3 separate regions of the Homo sapiens genome follow, and all the other regions are linked to region 2. The links are contacts of gene promoters, found by promoter capture Hi-C in human tissues and cell types (Jung and others, 2019). All regions are on one chromosome and are shown on one strand. Each heading gives the region's core, a stretch centred on a gene start or on the middle of the fragment in contact. The rest is flanking DNA. Distances are from core to core; before and after follow the strand shown.

Region 1 (3,823 bases), core at 5-2,504, 480 kb before region 2:
TTTGGGAAGCCAAGGTGGGTGGATCACTTGAGGTCAGGAGTTCAAGACCAGCCTGGCCAGGATGGCAAAACCCCGTCTCTACTAAAAATACAAAAATTAGCTGGGCATGGTAGCATGCACCTGTAATTCCAGCTACTTGGGAGATACAAGAATCGCTCAAACCCAGAAGGCAGAGATTGCAGTGAGCTCAGATCACACCACTACACTCCAGCCTGGGCAACAGAGTGAAGTTCCATCTCAAAAAAGAAAAAAAAGAAAAGAAAGAAAGAAAAAGAAAAGGGAAGACCAAATGATGCTCTCAGAGTCAGGTTCAAATAATACCTCTGCATCATCTATCTCTGGTTTTTGTGCAAAAGCAGATTACTTCTGAAGGGCCCTTTCCATTCCATCTTGTGGTTCTTCTTTTTTTTCTTTTTTCTTGAGATGGGGTCTTGCTATGCTGCCCAGGCTGGTCTTGAACTCCTGCGCTCATGTGTTCCTCCTGCCTCAGCCTCCTGAAGAGCTAAGATTACATGTGCCTACCACAATACACAACTCTATCTTGTGATTCATCTGCAGCCTTGACTGATATAAAGGACATTGGCCATTTCTGCCTGCCCAGTGTCCATTCCCTTTTTCTATTAAGTCCCCCATTTCCCTTTGGGAAATCATCTCTTCTCATTTAACGTACTCTTCTTAAGAGGGTGTGTCTTGGTAAGCACCTCCCATCATGAAAGGTGAAGGACACTTTTTCCTTTTGTTTGCACCTTTTAGGACCAGTGCGACGTAAACTCAAACAAGCAGATATTCTCTCCAGTATTTGACTCTTGACCAAGTGACCCAACAATGGAAGGGGTAGTTAGAAGTCATTTATTTTGGCAGGGGTGTTGCTAAGAGAAAAAATTCAAAGAAATTAAATTTAGACCGGGCACAGTGGCTCGCGCCTGTAATCCTAGCACTTTAGGAGGCCTAGGTGGGTGGATCGCCTGAAATCAGGAGTTCAAGACCAGCCTGGCCAATGTGGTGAAACCCTGTCTCTATTAAAAATACAAAAATTAGCCAGGTGTGGCGGCGGGAGCCTGTAATCCCAGCTACTTGGGAGGCTAAGGCAGAAGAATCACTTGAACCCAAGAGGCAGAGGTTGCAGTGAGCCGACATCGTGCCATTGCGCTTCAGCCTGGGCAACAGGAGCGAAACTCCATCCTAAAAAAAAAAAAAAAAGAAAAGAAAAGAAAAGAAAAGAAAAAAAGAAATAAATTAAATTTAACAGAATTTAACTGAGCAAATAATGATCCTCAAATTGGGCAGCCCCCATCCAGAATCAGAAGGTTCAGAGAGATTCCAGCACTGTCACATGGTGAGACAGGATTTATGAATAGAAAAAGGAAAGCAACATACAGAAAACAGAAGTGAGACACAGAAACAGTTGGAATGGTTATAGCTTGGCATTTGCCTTATTTGAACACTGAACAGTTGGCTGCCTGTTGAGTGGTTGAAGTATGGCTTCTGTGATTGCCTGAGGCTTGGCTACTTGTTTGGGTTTTTTGTTTGTTTGTTTTTGTTTTTGAGACGGAGTTTTGCTCTTATTGCCCAGGCTGGAGTGCAATGGCGCGATCTCGGCTCACTGCAACCTCCACCTCGCGGGTTCAAGCGATTCTCCTGCCTCAGCCTCCCGCCCGCCACCACGCTGGATAATATTTTTGTATTTTTAGTAGAGATGGGGGTTTCACCATGTTCGCCAGTCTGGTCTCGAGCTCCTGACCTCAGGTGATCCGACCCCCTCGGCCTCCCAAAGTGCTGGGATTATAGGTGTGAGCCACTGCACCCGCCAGCCTCCTTCTTTAACATCCATTCTAAGCTATTGCTATTTGTCCTTTTCACTCCCGGGTTCTATCTCCTTGTAGTGAACACTGTTAGGGTTGTTCCTCCCTTCTCTGCTATGATTCTTCCTTGTCTATAACTGATTCCTCCCCTCCAGCAGTTTGACCTTGTGCTCTGGCCATTGCGATTGGTCAGATTTACCCATCCTCACCATAAGCTAGGCCAATCAGATTTCTTTTTCCTGAGAGTGTAGAAGTTTGACCTCATGAATATGAAAGTTGTAGGTTGTTGAGAGCTAAGCACCAGAAGTGGTTTGGTTAGGAGGAAGGAAGGTCTATAATTTTCTGCTGCTGAGGTTTAGGATTTTCCTGAGTGCCAACACTTCCCTGTCTTCAGGAGAGTTCCAATAAATTTACCTTTCTTGAATAAGTTTTTTAAAATTGGCTTATGTTATCTGCAACCAAAGAACCTCAATTAACACAGTCTCCATGTGATAGAAGGTTCCTTGGAGACAAGGCCAAAATTTTTTTTTTTTTTTTTTTTTGAGACAGAGTCTCTCTCTGTCACCCAGGCTAAAGTGCAGTGGCACAATCTCGGCTCACTGTAACCTCTGCCTCCCAAGTTCAAGCAAGTCTTGTGCCTCAGCCTCCAAGTAGCTGAGATTACAGGCATGTGCCACTACGCCCGGCTAATTTTTGTATTTTCTGGAGAGACGGGGTTTCACCATGTTGGTCAGGCTGGTCTCGAACTCCTGGCCTCACGTGATCCATCTACCTCGGCCTCCCAAAGTGCTGAGATTACAAGTGTGAGCCACCATGTCCAGCCAAGGCCAAATTTTAATTCATTTATCCATTTATGCATTCATCAAACATTTATTGAGCATTTGCTATGTGACAGACACGTGGTAGGTACTGGGAACCCAAAGATAAATTAGACAATCCCCTCAACTCACCAAGCTTGTTGCCTAATTGTAAGTATAAATGTATTCAATCAATCATTCATTCACTTAATAAGTACTTCATTTATCCAATGAATAATTACCAACACTCATTTAATATTATGTAACAGGTCTTGGCACTAAATGCTTTTGTTAATTCTCCAACTCTATGAGGTATATCCCATTTTACAGAAGAAGTACCTGAGTCATAGAGAGGTTAGGCAGCTTTGCCTAAATCATAAGGATTCTAGGTGCTGAAACCGGTCTTCAATTATGGTATATCTGACTGCAGAGCTCTTGCTTCTAAGCATTGTGTAACCTCCCTCTCAAAGAATCTCAAAGCAGTGTGATACATGCTTACACAGGTGTGTATAAAGCTCACAGAGGAGAAAGCAACTAATTTTGTGGGGAGGTTGGGGTTCAAAACAGGCTTCACAGTTGAAGTGGTTTGAGCAATCTTGAAGGAAGAGAAGGGTTGTCTTCCTGGTGCCTAGCACAGAACTTTGCATATGAACACTGTAAAATGATGATTAAGCGGCTTATGTTTCTGGAAGGAGTTGTTTTCCTGTTTACATGGAGTCTGGGGTGTTTCCTACTGCCTACTGCAGCATCATTTTTGTGATTTAGCAATGGCATGTGAAGTAATCAGATCATCTGTATATCACTGATGCTCACAGAAGCCTGTAAGGTAAGTAGTACAGGTACACACTTTGTAAGATGAGTGAGGAAACCAGGGCTGAGTTTGCATTACTTGTCCAAGACTATACATAGTGAGTAAGTGGCGGAACAAGACAAGGGGCCAGCCCCCTGAGGAGGGATCGGCTAACAGGACTCCTCAAATCTAGCCAGACTCCTTTACTCCTCTTAGCCTGCAGGTGAGGCTTTGATCTTTCTAGACTCGACACCCGAGTTTCTGAAGGTTTCCTCAGAACACCCTCCCCATCCTTCTCAGTTCCAGCTCTCCAAGTCCCGCTCATCTTCCAAGATCTGTCTCATTGCACATCTTCCTCGCAAGCCTTCTCCAGAGTCATTCAGCTCACTCCCTAAGCTTCAGTTAAATCCCTTAGCCCTGCTTCCATCCAGATT
Region 2 (3,548 bases), core at 351-2,850:
TACCCAAACCCAAGCACCCCAGCCAGCCTCCCTCCCTGCCAAGCCCATGTGAGAGGCAGACAGAGCTTGTGAAAAGGGGCCCAGACGGCCACGATTATGAGACAAAGCTGCTCTGAAGGGAAAAGGGCCATGTGTGCCTCCCCATGTCTGTCCTGTGGCCACTGGAACTCACAAGGCTACCAGCTGCTCACGGCCACCATGTGGCATATACTGTTCTTTCACTTACATGTCAGATCCTTTTAGAATGTGAAAAGGTTTCCTGGCCTCTTTTTTATTTTGATGTATGCTGATAAATTACAGAGGAAACAGTGTGTGGTTATTCAAGAATAGAGGCTGAGCTGATCAGCATATGGCCCTCATTTCAAGGGATTGCTCTTGTTTTAATCAGCCAGTTGAGAAAGCAATAAATGTTTATTTATTAAGTATGCCATCACCGAGAGGAGAGGAACAGGGCAGGTAGGTGAGCTGCGACACCCAGGAAATTGAGGATGGTGATGGCACCAATATTCCTGCAGTGTTTGATGTTTTTAAGGCTCTGCTCCCCCCACCCCCCACTGTTTGATACACATTGGTGTCACTACCCTCTTGGCGCATCACAGTACCCACCTTAGAATAGCGGAGCCCTGGAAGGGGAAGGAAATAGAAATAAGAAGGTGGGGGTGAGGCTCAAAGAAGAAGCTCCAAGTTCAAGCTCTGTGTCTGGATAAACTCCCATTGTCTTTCCTTCTCTCAAATCAGAGCTGCCCGTGGGTCCCAGGGTGATGCTGGGCTGTGTAGAGGCTGAGTGCAGGAGCATTAATGCTAGAACCAGGTTCAAGTCCAGGCTCTGTCACTTAATGGCTGTATGACCTTAGACATGAGACTTAGCTTCTCTGAGCTTCAACCTCCTCATCTCCAGAATGGGGCTCAGCCAGCTTCACAGATCAGGCTGAGAGGATTAAGGAAGCATCTTATGCTAAAGGCTTAGCACAATGCCTGCTACCTAGTAGGGGCCCGATAAGTAGTGTCTAATTATGATCTAATCAAGCAGTGCTTGCCCTGGGCAGGCCCTGTTTAAGGGTTTTACATAGATTGTCATTTAACCCTCATATCTCTATTTCACAGATGAGGAAACTGGAATCTAAGATCACACTGGAATTTACAGACGAAGAAACTGGAATCTGAGATCTCACAGTAGTGAATGGTGAATATTCAAACCCAGGTAGACAGGCTCCAGAGTCCCAACTCCCAACCCTCTGTACACAGCCCTTCCGAGGAGATGACGCTGATCTTCATGGGTGTTGCCCTGGCAAGCTGACCTCTCAAGCCCCCAGGGTTCCTTCAGTCCGAGTGGAGAGCAGGGAAGGTCGTGGGACCTAGCCGAGAGGGAAGGGCAGGATGATGGCTGGAGAATCCACATCAGGGCTGAATCCCAATCTCCCAGCTGGAACGGGCGCTGAAACCAGGCAGGGCGCCCCAGCCCGCTCAAGGGGAATCGAGAGGGGAGGAGGGGGCAAGTCCACGATGCTGAGACTGGCGGCCAGAGCACCGCCCCCAGGAGCGGAGGGAGGGGTGGCGGGGCTGGGGGGTGCCCAGCTGCCATCCCCGCCGCTTCCTGGCCCTTACTCGCTGGCGCCCAAGTGGGAAGCCAGCAGCTGCCCGCTCCCTCCTCCCCACATCCCCGCTACTTGCCCAGTTCCCGAAGCGAAGCGCAGGCTGCGAGCCAGCCGGGCCGAGTCCACAACTTTGCAGCCTCGGGCAGGGCGAGAGCCGGCGTCCGGGGCTCCTCTTGTCGGCGACCAGAGCTCGGTGAGTTGATTTCCTCACCCCTCTGCGACGGCGGCAGTGCGGCGGCGGCGGCGCGGGGGGCGGCTTCCCGTGCGTCCGGGAGGCAGTGGCCGAGAAGCCCGCGGCTGCCGGCGCTGCCGGTCTTTCCAAGGCTCCGGCTGTGCCGCCCTCTGCCGCGGGCGAGGCGGGCGCCAGGGCTGAACGGACAGCTCCCTACACCCCGGGGCCCCACGGGCGGTCTCTGCTGTCCCTTCTCCCGCGCAGGGCCAGGGCTGAGGCTGCCTGCCGAGCGCCCCTCACTCCCCTAGCCCCTGTCCTTCGCCGCCTTCCCAGCGCTGCGGCGCATCTGGCTGCTCCCGCGCCCCCCTGGCGACCGGCGCCGGGAAGGCACTTGCTTCGCCGGAGCCCCAGGCCGAGGGCTCTCTGGGGTGGGCAGCACCGCCGCAGCCCCCGGCGGCGCAGGACTGGGGGCGTGCCCAGCCCCCGGCGACCACCCTCAGGCGTGCACTGCGCTGCGCCCCAGCGGTAGGGAGAGGCCCACGCTCTCCGCGGAGGCTGCGGGTTCCCGGGGGGCGCTGGGACCTGCAAAGGGGATTCCAAGGTGACCAGTCGACCCGTGCGGACGGGACAGCCTGGACGGAGGCCCCGTGGCATCCACCCATCCTAGGTGCAACCGCCTTCCCAGAACTTTTCTCGCGCCTCCGGCTGGCCGATTCCTTAGCCCCTGGAAAAGTTCTCTCGGGCGCACGGAATCCTATTTCTCGGTGGCTTCCGAAGCTGGCCAGGAACCCCGGCTGTGAGGCGTGGGGTGGGATGGGGACGTGGTGAGGGCTGAGCACGGCGGCGGGGTCGATCCCAGGAAAGGCTGGCCAAGCATCCACTCGTGCGCCCAGGGCGGGCTTGTCGGCATGGAAAGGATTTCGGCGCCATGAGGGTTGTTTGGGTTTCTCTCAGCAGGAGGGCGGGAGGCGGGCGCGAAGGGGGGATTTTAATTTCGCCTCAAATGAAAACGCTCTTCGCAAAGAAATAGCCCGGGCAGCCAGCGTTGGAGAGATGTGCTGGCCAGGACCCGCTGACACAGGTATTCTGGTTGCGCCCCCACCTCACCCGGTGCCCGAGAGCGAGTGTGAGTGTATCGATTGTTTCAATTGATTTTTTTAAAGCTAGATAGCAGAGGCTGCGTGTCTGTACACGCAGATATATACATACACAAATACAGATACTCAAGCGCACACAGATTACACGTACAGAGTCACAGACAAGGACACACACACACACATCGTGGTCCCTCACGCACACATACCTCCAAAGAGCCTTGGGTAACCTGGTGAGGTCCCTGAGTGCTGCCCAAGATGTGTGTGTGGGTGGGGACGCAGGGACGGAGAAAGGGGAGTGTGAAGCAGGATTTCCAGCAGGTCAAGTGCCGCTGATTCTCCTGCCCCCGACCCCAAATCCTTCCCTTTCTCCTCCTAGGGAGGTCTGAACCAGAAATCCCAAACCTGGGCTTGTTTCCACATCCACAGAGGGGAGGAGTCCTATCCCCCGGTGCCCCCCACCCTCACAACTCCTAAAGACTGCAAACGAGTCCCTCCCTCCTGTGCCAGACTCTGCCGCGCCAAGGCGCCGAGCTCGCTCAAAACCCCAGGCAACACTCACCCCCAGGTGGGGCCTAGACCCGAGGCCGCTGCGGGCTCGGGTCTCTGGCCTGCCTGATCCGGGGTTAGGGAACTGGGGAGGGGAAATCCGCGGGACAGGGGGTTGGGGGCGTGGAGTCGCGTGCA
Region 3 (3,858 bases), core at 812-3,311, 310 kb before region 2:
CCTTTGACGATGAAGACGATGAGCTTTCACAGGTAGGTCAACTGCTGAAGTTTGTACTCTTCTCCACAGTGCCACTATAAAATTCCTTCCTCTTGCATTCTGGGTAACTAGGCTTTTGACCATGTATGTCTTCATTAGGCTCAGAAAAGAGCCAGAAGGATTGTAAAATCCAGCTCACTGCCTTTCTTACTTTACCTTTTTAAGATGATTTATTCCTACAGGTTTTTTTTTCTTTTGAAGAACCCCAAGTCTTTTATTTATGTGATATATATTTTTTTATTTTTGAAAGATGAACTGGATTGGAAGATTTATCTTTGTTGTGTCTATTTTGCAATTGAGGAATCATTTATTTTTAGAGAGGTGAATAAATTCACTCAGGTTTACATAGCAAGTCACTGCCAGGAATATGATGAGAATTCAAAAGTGACTTTGATTCCTCCTAACTCTTTTATCACTGGACTGTAGTGTTGGCTAAAAATCAGTTTGTTTTCTTGGCAAATATGTAGTATGCTAGGCTTTCGATTGCACAGGGCGAGTGTTGGCCACCTTCAGGCCCCAATTCCTCAGCCTTCTTGATTGTCAGAAGAGAGGTGGGAAATGATGATTTGCCTGAGCACCCTAGCCTTGTGTCCCTCTGCAGTTAAAGGAGTCCAAGCGGGCGGTGAACAGCCTCCGAGACTTCGTGGATGATGATGACGATGATGACCTGGAGCGAGTCAGCTGGAGTGGGGAACCTGTGGGAAGTAAGTAGAAGAGTCCCTAGGCAGGGATAGATGTTGAGGATTCTTATCACTGATAAAGGCTCTACTTGTTTGTTTCTTCAATGCTAGTTAGGAGAGGGACTAGGATAAGACTATTTTCAGATAAGCATACATCTGGAAACTTAACTCCAGGAGAAGATACTTGGGAAATCCAGCAGGAGTTCCCACATGGCTATATAGGTCTGCTCTTCAGGGGTTGACTCTTAGCTGGCTATTTCATTCTCATTTGGGGTGCTTGTTAAAATGACATACTCCTAGGCTTTATCCCAGAGATTCTGTTCATTAGGTCTTCTGCGGAGTAGAGGGGGTCTCAAATTTTAATAAACACTGCAGGTGATTCTGATATATAGCCATATTTGGGAACTACTGACTTGACTCAGTATACTAATAACTGATTGACAGAACGGACTTCCTTACCCACCAAGTCTCACTGCTTAGCTGTATATGATACCACTTAATACTTTTTCAGAGTCCATTTGATTTTTTTTTTTTTTTTTTTTTGAGATGGAGTCTTACTCTGTTGCCTAGTCTGGAGTGCAATGGCGCGATCCTGACTCACTGCAACCTCCGCCTCCCAGGTTCAAGCGATTCTCATGCTTCAGCCTCCCTAGTAGCTGGGATTAAAGGTGCCAACCACCATGCCTGGCTAATTTTTGTATTTTTAGTAGAGATGGAGTTTTACCATGTTGGCCAGGCTGGTCTTGAACTGCTGACCTCAAGTGATCCGCCTGCCTTGGCCTCCCAAATGCTGGGATTATAGGTATGAGCCACCATCCCTGGTCCCCATCTGATTTTTAAGAAATATTTTTAATTGAAAGTTTTTAAAAAATAGGCCATACTATAATGTGACTAAAGATTAAAAAAAAAAAATTAAAGGTCTACAGTGAAAAGTTTCCGTTCCATATTGTTATGTATCTTCTCAGTTTTCAGTTCATGTCCTCCCAAAAAACAATCGTTGCTTGGTTCCTGTGTATTCATCTAAAGACTCTTTTTGCATCTGGAAAAGTATATAGAAACATGTATTCTTATCCCATTTTTACACAAGCAGTAGCATGCTTCATACCTTGCTCTTTTTATGTGTTAATATAGCTTGGAGATCTTTCCATGTCAGTATATAAAGAGTGTTCTCATTTTCTCTTTCTTTTTTTTAAATAGCAGCATAGTATTAAATTGTATGGGTTTACCATCATTTTTTAGCCAGCCCACTGTTGAATTTTAGATTTTTCAATCTTTTGCTCTTTATATTTCTATCATTGACTTTATATTCTGACCATAGATGCATAAATGAAAGAGCAATTCTTAGAGTGGAATTACTCACATAGGATGTTTGCATCTGTATTGGGTAGATATTGCCAAATTGACCTCCACAGGGGTTGTACCAATTCATACTACCACCAGCAATGGAGGAGGGTTCCAGTTTCCCTATAGCCTGGCTAACACGGTATTATCAAGCTTTTGGATCTTTCCCCATCTTATAGGGGACTAATGGTTTCTCATTATATTTTTAATTTGTAGTACTCTTAGCAAAGCTGGGGGCAGGTGGTGTGTGCCTCTGGAGGGTAGTGGCGATGGATGGCTTGAGGCCAGGAGTTGAGGCTGACGTGAGACATGACTGTTAGATATGATTGTGAATAGCCACTGTACTCCAGAGCTCCGGCAATGTAGTGAGACCCTGTCTCTAAAAAAAAAGAAAAAAAGAGAAAAAAGAGTAAGGTTGAGCATCTTTTCATATGTTGAAGAGCCATTTGAATTTTCTGTGATCCACCTATTCATGTCCTTGGTCCATTTTTCTGCTGATTAGTCTATTTGATTCTATCTTTTCTCCCTGCCCCAAGTTGGCCAAGGGACCAGGGCTTCTGGTGAAAAGCTTTTAGAGTTTATTGAATGTTGGATGTCAAGGCTTTATTGTGGATGAGAATTGCTGATGTAGTTCTTACTATCTCACAGGTATCTCATGGTCCATCAGAGAGACTGCTGGTAATAGCGGCTCAACCCACGAGGGGCGTGAACAGCTAAAGAGCCGAAACAGCTTCTCCTCCTATGCACAACTACCCAAGCCTACTTCTACCTACTCCCTGAGCAGCTTTTTTAGAGGTAAAGAGAGATGCTTAAATGGATAGGGAAGTCCTTCTCTTTTTCCAGAAAAATCTTAGGCCATAATTTTCATTTACTTTGTAAGAAAAAGATTATTGAAGGGTAAAGCATTCTCATTGGAGGTGGCAGCTGGGTGTTAGGAGCGAGATAAATGAGAGAAATTCAGAGGAGTTGGACTGGTTTTCTATAGCATGATGAATGAAATTGACATTAACCCTGTGACTGGTACTGAAAAAATTTGCCTAGATCAAAATTCCTCCCTACTCCTTGTGCATTGCTGTTGGAAAACCTTGTTGGTGGGAATGCCAAATGGTGCAGCCACCGTGGAAGACAGTATGGTGGTTTTTTAAAAAAAATTAAACAGTAAACATATAACTGGCTAGGCGTGGTGGCTCACGCCTGTAATCCCAGCACTTTTGGGAGGCTGAGGCAGGTGGATCACCTGAGGTCAAGAGTTCTAGACCAGCCTACCAATATGGTGAAACCCCGTCTCTACTAAAAATACAAAAATTAGCCGGGCATGGTGGGGGCTTCTGTAATCCCAGCTGCTCAGGAGGCTGAGGGAGGCAGATTGCTAGAACCTGGGAGGCAAAGGTTGTAGTGAACCGAGATTGCACTACTGCAGTCTAGCCTGGGTGACAGAGCAAAACTCCATCTCAATAAATAAATAAATAACATATGATCTAGCAATTTTACTTCTGGGTATATCTCAAAAAGAATGGAAAGCAGGTACTTGAACATATATTTGTACCTCCATGTTGATAGTAGCATTATTCACAATAGCCAAAAGATGGAAACAACCCAAATGTCCATTGATGGATGAATGGATAAACAAAATGTGCCATATACATGCAGCGGAATGTTACTCAGCATTAAAGAAGAACGACATTCCCATACATGCTGCCATATGGATGATCCTTGAGGATGTGATACTAAATAAAATGAGGCACAAAGGGACAAATATTGTATGACTCCATTTACGTATGACCTAGAATAGTCAGAT

The links. Contacts are between HindIII fragments. The study calls those that stand out against the background at their distance.
Region 1: a contact is called between a fragment that was not itself captured here and the fragment with the promoter of ZDHHC22 in region 2, in 1 of the 25 tissues and cell types used here (dorsolateral prefrontal cortex).
Region 3: a contact is called between a fragment that was not itself captured here and the fragment with the promoter of ZDHHC22 in region 2, in 1 of the 25 tissues and cell types used here (dorsolateral prefrontal cortex).

Annotation. Positions count from the first base shown.
Region 1 is chr14:77,618,285-77,622,107 of GRCh38, reverse strand. No RefSeq gene overlaps it. Among named protein-coding and RNA genes, the nearest start is that of SPTLC2, 3.6 kb to the right of the region's middle. The HindIII fragment of the contact is 4,035 bases long and covers 1-3,271 here.
Region 2 is chr14:77,139,843-77,143,390 of GRCh38, reverse strand. It overlaps ZDHHC22 (zDHHC palmitoyltransferase 22), which reads left to right and starts at 1,600. Exons shown (of 3, transcript NM_174976.2): 1 at 1,600-1,788. RefSeq lists enhancers at 1,486-1,987, 2,082-2,645, 2,646-3,209, 3,347-3,548. The HindIII fragment of the contact is 26,670 bases long and covers 1-3,548 here.
Region 3 is chr14:77,450,184-77,454,041 of GRCh38, reverse strand. VIPAS39 (VPS33B interacting protein, apical-basolateral polarity regulator, spe-39 homolog) reads left to right here. Exons shown (of 20, transcript NM_001193315.2): 2 at 1-32; 3 at 641-743; 4 at 2,709-2,855. Among named protein-coding and RNA genes, the nearest start is that of VIPAS39, 5.5 kb to the left of the region's middle. The HindIII fragment of the contact is 5,877 bases long and covers 1-3,858 here.